Linked DNA regions of Homo sapiens: all the other regions are linked to region 3. The links are contacts of gene promoters, found by promoter capture Hi-C in blood cells and fetal thymus (Javierre and others, 2016). All regions are on one chromosome and are shown on one strand. The core of a region is centred on a gene start or on the middle of the fragment in contact, and the rest is flanking DNA. Distances in the headings are between cores, read along the strand shown. Region 1 overlaps SF3B1 (splicing factor 3b subunit 1). Region 2 overlaps SF3B1 (splicing factor 3b subunit 1). Region 3 holds the start of ANKRD44-AS1 (ANKRD44 antisense RNA 1).

Region 1 (3,183 bases), core at 81-2,580, 230 kb before region 3:
GTTGGGTCACCCAGAGGACCTGAAGTCCAGCTTTCTGCTATTTATCAAACATGCTAATGAATTGTCAATGACTTTAATATTAGTATACCATTTTAGGTATTTAGGATTTAAATGCTCTCTTAGTATTCCTAGGCTTTATTATTTTGTCTTTAGACTATCTCAAATATAACCTTTTGCAAAGTAAGTAGAAAATATAAAGTTGTGCTGTTTTTGTTCATTCAGGATGTTATTCATTTGGGGATATTGATAGTATAGCTTTGATACTTATTTATTGGTAACTTCAGTATAAGATGCCCTCAGACAGGAAAATCAGAATTCTGATCAGTTTTCCTGAATTTTTTAGAAACCCAGCTAAAAACTTTGGTCTATTGCTATTCATTGGCCAAACTTGTTATTTTTGAGATTATTCTATCAATGTGAATTAAGTGATACCATAAGAAAATAGCAGAACATTCAATACTTGAGCACTGTCTGTGCCCATCCCTATGGGATATGTCAGGGGATGATAAATGTTTAGTAGAAATACACATAATACTGACATAGCTTGTTGCTTCCTTCCTAATGGAACTCTAGTTCTTCATGGTCCATCACTGTTTTCTCTTGTTAAGCCATTTTTGATAAACTGAAGCAGAATTAATGCTTTTTGGGGCAGTGCTGCTATAGTACTCAGTATAAATGTTATATTGCTTAGAATAGTCTGTTGTGTTAAGATTTTCTCTTCTCCTTAGCTCCAAGATTGAGATAAACTGATAACTATTTATTTATTTTGCTGTCATATTCCTTTCAAACATTTCTTTTTTTATTTTTTATTTTTTTTTGAGATAGGGTCTTTTTCTGTTGCCCAGGCAGAAGTGCAGTGGTGCAATCTCGGCTCACAGCAACCTCCGCCTTTTAGGTTCAAGCGATTGTCCTGCTTCAGCCTCCTGAGTACTAGTATCGCAGGCATGTGCCACCACACCCGACTAATTTTTGTATTTTTAGAGACAGGGTTTCGCCATGTTGGCCAGGCTGGTCTCAAACTCCTGACCACAAGTGATCCTCCCACCTTGGCCTCCCAAAGTGCTGGGATTACTGGCATGAGCCACCATGCCTGAACCCTTTCAAACATTTCTATTAGGATCAGGCCTCACATCCTCTTTAACCAATCTGATTATATTTTACCCTGGCCAATGTGGCTTATGCTTTCCAGGATTGAAATATAAAAAGAACTGGAATTACTCAAATCAGATAAAATCTTTTAGATCTTTCCACGTATTATGTCAGGTGTATGGTTATGAATATGCATAATCTTGCCATCCAGCAGTTCTTCAGATACTGCTGACTTTGGCATACAAACAGGGAACACACATTATTCTCTGTTTTGTAAGGGGAAAATGGTTTAACCAAAAATCCTACATATCAGCTTGTTTTGCCACTAATCCTTTGAATTAGATTTTTTGGGACATCACAAAGCTGAAAAAGTTTTTTCCCTAATTCTTTGCTTGATAAATGGCTGGAATAGTTATAGTTTTGTTATTGTGTATCTTGCTGATCTATATATTTTTTCCTGTGTTTATTTTTGAGACCGGGTCTTGCCCTGTTGCCCAGGTTGGAGTGCAGTGGCGTGATCATAGCTCACTTAACCTACAACTGCTGGGCTCAAGTGATCCTCCCATTTCAGCCTCCTGAGTAGCTACAACTACAGGCGTGTGCTACCATGCCTGGCTAATTTTTACAATTTTTTTTTAGAGATGGGGTCTCGCTATGTTACCCAGGCTGATCTCGAACTCCTGGGCTCAAGCAGTCCTGCCTTGGCCTCCCACCGTGCTAGGATTACAGGTGTGAGCCACGATGCCTGGCCTTGAAATTTTTTTTAATAGAATTAATCATTTAGGAATCAATTTATCAGTATTGTTTGTAGTGTTCAGTAAAATGATTTATATTATAGTTAGTTGTCCTATTGGAGTTTTGTTTAATGAAAAAGCTGAGGGTTGGGATTCAGAATATACTTCCTGTTTTTCTGTGATGTCTTTTAGAAGCCTTGTATTTTGGAAATAGTTGTTCACCGGTTATATCTGGCTGAAGGAGAGTAGATATCACTTAGGGACCAGACTGAAAGGTGTAGGTGAGACATTAACATCTGAGGGCAGTATCTGTGTAACATGTAATGAGCAGTGATTAGAACACTGAAAATAATTCAGACGAAAAATGAAAAATAAAAATCAAGGAGGAAGAAGTGCTACAAGTTGGGTTTAGCAGGATCTAAGGCTTAGAAAGAAGAAAAGGGCTGGGCATGGTGTCTCACACCTATAATCCCAGCACTTTGGGAGGCTGAGGTGGGCAGATCACCCAAGGTTAGGAGTTCCAGACCAGCCTGGCCAACGTGGTGAAACCCCCTCTCTACTAAAAGTACAAAAAAATTAACCGGGCATGGTGGCGTGAGCCTGTGATCCCAGCTCCTCGGGAGGCTGTTGCAGGAGAATCGCTTGAACCCAGGAGGCGAAGGTTGCAGTGAGCTGAGATCACGCCACGCCACTGCACTCCAGCCTGGGCGACTGAGTGAAACTCTGTCTCAAAAAAAAAAAAAAAAAAAAAAAAAAGAAGAAAAGGCACAGGAGGGGAAATCAGAGGGACAGAATTGGTGGGGAGCAGTTAAATAGTTTTATCAGATGTGACCTTCTGCTATCAGTGATATGAATTGTTTTTCTCAAGAGCTTGATATGTAGGTCTGAGTTTTAAAATACAGGAGGCCAGGGGTTGCTCACGCATGTAATCCCAGCATTTTGGGAAGTCAAGACAGGAGGATTGCTTGAGACTGCAAACATACAGAAAAGTAGAGAGCGGCTGGCGCTATACTCCAGCCTGGGCAACAGAGCAGGACTCTGTCTCAGAAAAACAAAACAACAGGCCGGGCACAGTGTGTGAAGACAGGTTTTAATAACACTAGGGTAGGCTGGGCACGGTGGCTTACGCCTGTAATCCCAGCACTTTGGGAGGCTGATGTGGATGGATCACCAGAGGTCAGGAGTTTGAGACCAGCTTGATCAACATGGTGAAACCCTATCTCTACTAAAAATAAAAAAATTAGCTGGGTTTGGTGGTGCGTGCCTGTAATCCCACCTGCTTGGGAGCCTCAGGCAGGAGAATCTCTTGAACCAGGAGGTGGAGGTTGCAGTGAGCCGAGATCGTGCCACTGCACTTCAG
Region 2 (3,181 bases), core at 307-2,806, 200 kb before region 3:
AACCTGTGTTTGGTTTTGTAGGTCTTGTGGATGAGCAGCAGAAAGTTCGGACCATCAGTGCTTTGGCCATTGCTGCCTTGGCTGAAGCAGCAACTCCTTATGGTATCGAATCTTTTGATTCTGTGTTAAAGCCTTTATGGAAGGGTATCCGCCAACACAGAGGAAAGGTAAATCCACCAATTACCTTTTGATTTATCTTCATTAAAGTTAAGGCGACATAAATCTAAATTACTAAAGTACATATATTTTTTATTTAAAAATAGGGTTTGGCTGCTTTCTTGAAGGCTATTGGGTATCTTATTCCTCTTATGGATGCAGAATATGCCAACTACTATACTAGAGAAGTGATGTTAATCCTTATTCGAGAATTCCAGTCTCCTGATGAGGAAATGAAAAAAATTGTGCTGAAGGTAATTATTCCAGATTTGTTAATGTAAACTGGATATGTTTCATGGTTCTAACAGAATTTTAAAGTGTTTTTAAAAATCAACAAAAAAAACTGTATGTTACACGAATACTGTTTGATTTGTTTTTAAATTTTATTTTTTAAAATCACGTAATCAGCAATGAGTATTCTCTTCATTTCAGGTCAGTTGATTTATTATTACTATTTCTTAACCTTTTAGGTGGTAAAACAGTGTTGTGGGACAGATGGTGTAGAAGCAAACTACATTAAAACAGAGATTCTTCCTCCCTTTTTTAAACACTTCTGGCAGCACAGGATGGCTTTGGATAGAAGAAATTACCGACAGGTAAGCTTTTATTGTAAAAGAATATTCTCAAAAGTCCTTTCAACTCATTCTTTAGTCAACTTGAATGCATGTTGTATATTATTTTTTGCCTTGATTATCTCACAGTTTATATGTGCTTGATTATGAAAGGAGATGGATTTTAGTCAGCCAGTTAACTTCCATTTTGATTTTGGATTCGAGGATTAATACTTAACTGTGAATTGATGTTTTTGTCTGGTACATTCAGTGCTTTATCTGGCTAGATGAAACATGGACACAGTTTTACCTTGAATCATGTTAACTTATACTCATTTTTCGATGTTTGGTCACTTTTCTCTTCAACTTTAATAAGTAGCAATGAATCATTCTTACCATGTTTATTAGCTAAATAAGTAGTATATTTAGAGTATTTGGTTTTCATGATGTTGCTTTATTTCCTTGGAAAAGCAGTCTAAAAGGTTTTTTGTTTTTCTGTTCTTTTTAGTTAGTTGATACTACTGTGGAGTTGGCAAACAAAGTAGGTGCAGCAGAAATTATATCCAGGATTGTGGATGATCTGAAAGATGAAGCCGAACAGTACAGAAAAATGGTGATGGAGACAATTGAGAAAATTATGGGTAATTTGGGAGCAGCAGATATTGATCATAAACTTGAAGAACAACTGATTGATGGTATTCTTTATGCTTTCCAAGAACAGACTACAGAGGTAATGAAAACTATTATGGCACATTGCTACTAACTTTAATATTTGTAGAAAAGCATATTAGTTGTCAAGCAAATTTTTCTAGAATGCAATTGAATTTGAAGTAATTTTTAAAATGCTCAGGGGGTTACCAAACGATATTATTCTACCTCAAGTTTTAAGATTTGATGTAAAAAAACAGCAACAGATGTTTGGGTGGTTAGAAAAGGTTGACTCTTAGTGTATTTCAACTGTGCAGTCATAAACCAAATGAATATGTCTTTTTTTTAAATTTATTTTTTAGGACTCAGTAATGTTGAACGGCTTTGGCACAGTGGTTAATGCTCTTGGCAAACGAGTCAAACCATACTTGCCTCAGATCTGTGGTACAGTTTTGTGGCGTTTAAATAACAAATCTGCTAAAGTTAGGCAACAGGCAGCTGACTTGATTTCTCGAACTGCTGTTGTCATGAAGACTTGTCAAGAGGTAAACTTTTGCATCAAATTCTTACTTCTTCCCCAAATAGTTTAATGTAAATAGTAACATTTTAACATTATTTGTTTTATTATAGGAAAAATTGATGGGACACTTGGGTGTTGTATTGTATGAGTATTTGGGTGAAGAGTACCCTGAAGTATTGGGCAGCATTCTTGGAGCACTGAAGGCCATTGTAAATGTCATAGGTATGGAATTTGCTGGTTACATAAGACTTTTTCTTGTTTTAACTTTCTTTTTCTTTTTTTTTTCGTAAGTAAAATCTTATTTAGGAGTTGGGAGGTTTTTGTTAGCTTTTTAAAAGCACTTCAAGATTGTAGTTAAGTCGGGGGATGTCACAAAAGTCTTGTTTCCCAAAACCCATTTATATTTTACTTTAAAGAGAAAAAAAGGGTAAGTTTAGGACCTACATGAGAGGTGGGAGTAGTCACAGCTCAAAAAGCTTTGAAGTCATGGAATACAGGACCCTAGTAGAAATAGTGTGTCAGGTGAAATATATTCTGCCATGTTCTGCTGCGGGGTGAAAAGGCAATCCTAAAGTTTTAATTTAGTTTTAGAACAATATATATATATTTAAACCTTGAATTAGCGATTATGACAGGTTTTTTGCTTGTGATCAGTTTCAAGGAATATAATCAGAGAAAAGTGAACTGATCAAATTATTGTCTTTATTTACATACCCAAGTTTTAAATACTGTCCATTCAGTTTTCTAACCCGTAATACAGCTATATTACAAATGGTCTTGGATATGGAGAGCAAAGTTTTTATTCCATTAGGGCAGTATGAAGAAAACAAATGGTTTCTTATATTTAATCTTTTTTTTAAATTGATTATAACTGTTGCCAAATGTAACTCCTGCAGAGTTTAGAGGCTCTGATAACCTAGCAGAAGTCAAAATAGCTGACTGTGAGAGAGCCACTGTTTGTTTTTCCTCATTTTGTAAGAGGTATTTATGCGATACACATGTTTAAACTATTGTATTTGCATATAATCTCCAATGCAACCCTATCCTCTATACTTGAAGATAGCTACTTGCCAGAAATCATTTACATGGCCACTTGTAGGGCTCTGGTTTGCAGGGAGTTTTAAACCATATTGTTTGTCAGAGAGGCATGGGAAGAGCAATGGAGAGAGAATCAGAGCAAGTGATTCTAGTTAGAGCAAGAGCCCCTGCCAGCTGCCTCCTTTTTTCTCTCTTCGTAGGTGTAAATACCATCCAAGTATGCCCTGCATTGCAGGGAGACTGGAGATCTGTTTGTTTTGCAGTTAAA
Region 3 (3,088 bases), core at 415-2,914:
CACCCTGGACAATATAGCAAGACCCCCATCTCAAAAAAAGTGTGTGTGTGGGAAATAGTAAAATCCCATTTTCTGATAATAAATAACGATAATCTCATATATCTGTATCTGTACCTACCAACAAGAACACGGGCTGTTCACATTTGTGGTAGGAAAGGTTATTAAGTTTTTTCTTTATCTGTTTTTGTATTGTTGCAACAGGAAACCTACTAAGATTAAAATCCAGCAAACATAAGACAAAGATAAAATGCACAGGGGTTTTGATGCATTAGGTGTTTCCCATAGTACTTCCTATTTTTCAAACTTCGTGTGATTAAAAAAGTAAGTTTTATCCCTGACTAAATTTCAGTGTGGAAATAAAGAAATAAAGATAGCATGTACTTGGCTTAGGTATACTTGTTTTGTTCTTTCAGCTCGTTACGTAAAGATACATTTTTTTTTCTTTCTCATGACATGAAGATAAGCTTTCTTCTTACCAAAACCTAAACTGTGAAGGCAGCACCCAAGCCAAAAGCCTCGAGGCTCTGGTTTCTGTGGTGGGATGGGGAGAGAAGTAGGTTGCACAGATGTAGGATGCCAGCTGACTTCAGAACTTCCGGTCTCAGAGCTAACCAGGCTCGGCAAGCCACAAGAGAGAAGGAGCTTGCATAGGTGGAAGAGCAAAGAAAGCCAGTGCTGCAGAACTTCCGGTGCTCCTCCGCCGATGTCGGGCTGGCGCTGCTCCCGAGCCCTGTGTCCTGTGGAAGAAGTTGGTGAGAATCGTTTTGAATGTAGGCAGCCACTCCTGAGGAGGCTAGCCCTTGCTACATTAAAGGTGGAGCTAGATTTACATTTTATTTTATTTTATTTTATTTTTTATTTTTCGAGATGGAGTCTTGCTGTCGCCCAGGCTGGAGTGCAGTAGCACGATTTCAGCTCACTGCAACCTCCACCTCCCGGGCTCAAGCGATTCACCTGCTTCAGCCTCCCGAGTAGCTGGGATTACAGGGGCACGCCACCATGCCTGGCTAATTTTTTGTATTTTTAGTAGAGACGGGGTTTCACCATGTTGGCCAGGCTGGTCTCAAACTCCTGGCCTCAGGTGATCCACCTGCCTCGGCCTCCCAAAGTGCTGGGATTACAGACGTGAGCCACCATGCCCGGTCAAATTTACCTTTTAGATTCACATATTACCACCAGAAGAATGCTTCCTCTGACAACTGAGCGGTACTCCATCCCCAGAGCCCTTTGTGCAGACTATTATTGCAGTTTCCTAACTTGTTATGACACTCCAGCCTTTTCCTCCAGGTCATCATACAATCCATTTTTAGAGTGATTGTTCTAAAGCACAAATCTTAGGTCACTCCCCTGCTCAAAAACCACCCACTGCTCCCCCAGTTCCACAGAAGAGAGCTCAAATTTCTTAGCTTGGTATTCAAGACCTTCCATGATAGGATCCCTGTCTACTACTCAGCTTACCTCACTTCTCCCCTCCTCCAGCCAAATGAAACTGTTCCCTGTGTATGTTCAGGCTCCCTAGCTTCTGCTCACAGCCTTCTGAATATGAAGAAGGGAAAGTCCCTTACCATTCCATCCGTCTCTACCTGTTTAAATCCTCCCCAGTCTTCAATATTCATTTCAGAGGCTGCGTCTTTCAGGAGGCCAGGTACAATTTCTCTCCCTTCTCCATGCACTTCTCCTGCGGCCTGTGCCTTACATTCTAGCTGTGCGTATTTGTATACTTCCTGTTACACCTTGGTAACCTCATCAAGGGAGAGACTGACTCTGACATTCCAGTGTCTGAATTTCTTTCTTTCTTTTTCTTTTTCTGTGTTTCTTTCTTTCTTTTTTTTTTTTTTTTTTTTTGAGACAGGATTTCACTCTGTCACCCAGGCTGGAGTGCAATGGTGTGAGCATGGCTCACTGCAGCCTCAATTTCCTGGGCTCAGTTGGTTCTCCCACCTCAGCCTCCCGAGTCGCTGGGACTACAGGTGTGCGCCACCGTGCCCAGCTAATTTTTGCATTTTTAGTGGAGATGTGGTTTCACCATGTGTCTAGGCTGGTCTGGAACTCCTGGATTCAAGTGATCCGCCTGCCTTGGTCTCCCAAAGTGTTGGGATTACAAGCATGAGCTACTGCGCCCGGCCTCCAGTGTCTGAATTTCTTATGCTCAGTAAATGTCTTATGCTTAATACATCTTTGTTGAATTGAATGTGGTTATCTGAAATGTACCAAATTAAGTTTTAGAAAACATATCTTTTATCCCCTGTTGGAGGGGGTAGTGTGTAAAGAAATAAAGGAGCTACGCACTGGGTTGGTGTCTGTGAAAGGAAATATGATATGACTTCTTTTTTTTTGCAGAATTTCCCATTTTCCCATTTTATATTATCGAATGTTTTCCAGTCTCTTAGGCTCCTCTCTCTTCCTGCTGCCTTATCCTTTCCCTTTGACATCTGTCACTGGATGTCCTTACCATGATTTTGGATGGGGAAATGAGAAGATGCTTCCTGAAAGACTACACTGAGGGGATTCTCTAATAGATTTTCATTCCATGTGACTTTTTCTGGCTGGGGAGGGAGTAGGGGACCTTCCAGTCATCTCAGGCAGAAACTAATTCAGGTCCTGATCAACCCACTGCCTTAAATTTTAGAATGGTTGCTATAACAATTTTAGAATGGTTGCTATAACAAGATGCCTTAGGAAAAAAAAAATTGACAATGGCCAGAACAGGAAGGTGACTCCGTTTTACACATGTCCCTAGTCCCTCACCTGTGGAGAGGTGGTGAGAGTTTAACTGCTTGCTGTCTTTCCAAGAATGCACGTGGAATTCAAAGAAAAGAACAGTAGAAGGGAAGGAGAGGGTTTAAAGGAAAATTGTCATGGGCTTTGGAAAGACCTGATTGTGTAAAAATTGCTTGCTGGTGTTTGGAAAGAACCCAGGTGCTAACAGATTTTAGACAAACCCAATCTGGAGTTGCCTAAATCATGAATGATTTAATGTGACTGAGTTAATCCATATATCTTGTATACAGTAGTTCCAGCCTCCTCAAATGTAGCAGGAGATTGCCACCTTTCTGAGAGTACCTTTCATTTCTACATGCTGATTTTG

What was found. The method cuts DNA at HindIII sites, captures the fragments that hold promoters and counts their contacts. A CHiCAGO score of 5 or more calls a contact.
Region 1: a contact is called between a fragment that was not itself captured here and the fragment with the promoter of ANKRD44-AS1 in region 3, in 4 of 17 cell types (total B cells, fetal thymus, naive CD4 T cells and 1 more). The highest score is 7.2, in total B cells.
Region 2: a contact is called between a fragment that was not itself captured here and the fragment with the promoter of ANKRD44-AS1 in region 3, in 1 of 17 cell types (total B cells). The highest score is 5.2, in total B cells.

The regions. Positions count from the first base shown.
Region 1 is chr2:197,430,501-197,433,683 of GRCh38, reverse strand. All of the region lies in intron 1 of SF3B1 (splicing factor 3b subunit 1), which reads left to right. Among named protein-coding and RNA genes, the nearest start is that of SF3B1, 2.9 kb to the left of the region's middle. The HindIII fragment of the contact is 3,930 bases long and covers 1-3,183 here.
Region 2 is chr2:197,398,971-197,402,151 of GRCh38, reverse strand. It overlaps SF3B1 (splicing factor 3b subunit 1), which reads left to right. Exons shown (of 25, transcript NM_012433.4): 15 at 22-167; 16 at 264-410; 17 at 627-752; 18 at 1,216-1,437; 19 at 1,718-1,900; 20 at 1,986-2,097. Among named protein-coding and RNA genes, the nearest start is that of SF3B1, 34 kb to the left of the region's middle. The HindIII fragment of the contact is 1,594 bases long and covers 760-2,353 here.
Region 3 is chr2:197,196,567-197,199,654 of GRCh38, reverse strand. ANKRD44-AS1 (ANKRD44 antisense RNA 1) reads right to left here and starts at 1,664. Exons shown (of 2, transcript NR_135584.1): 1 at 1,566-1,664; 2 at 382-737. All of the region lies in intron 1 of ANKRD44 (ankyrin repeat domain 44), which reads left to right. RefSeq lists an enhancer at 549-618. The HindIII fragment of the contact is 4,177 bases long and covers 467-3,088 here.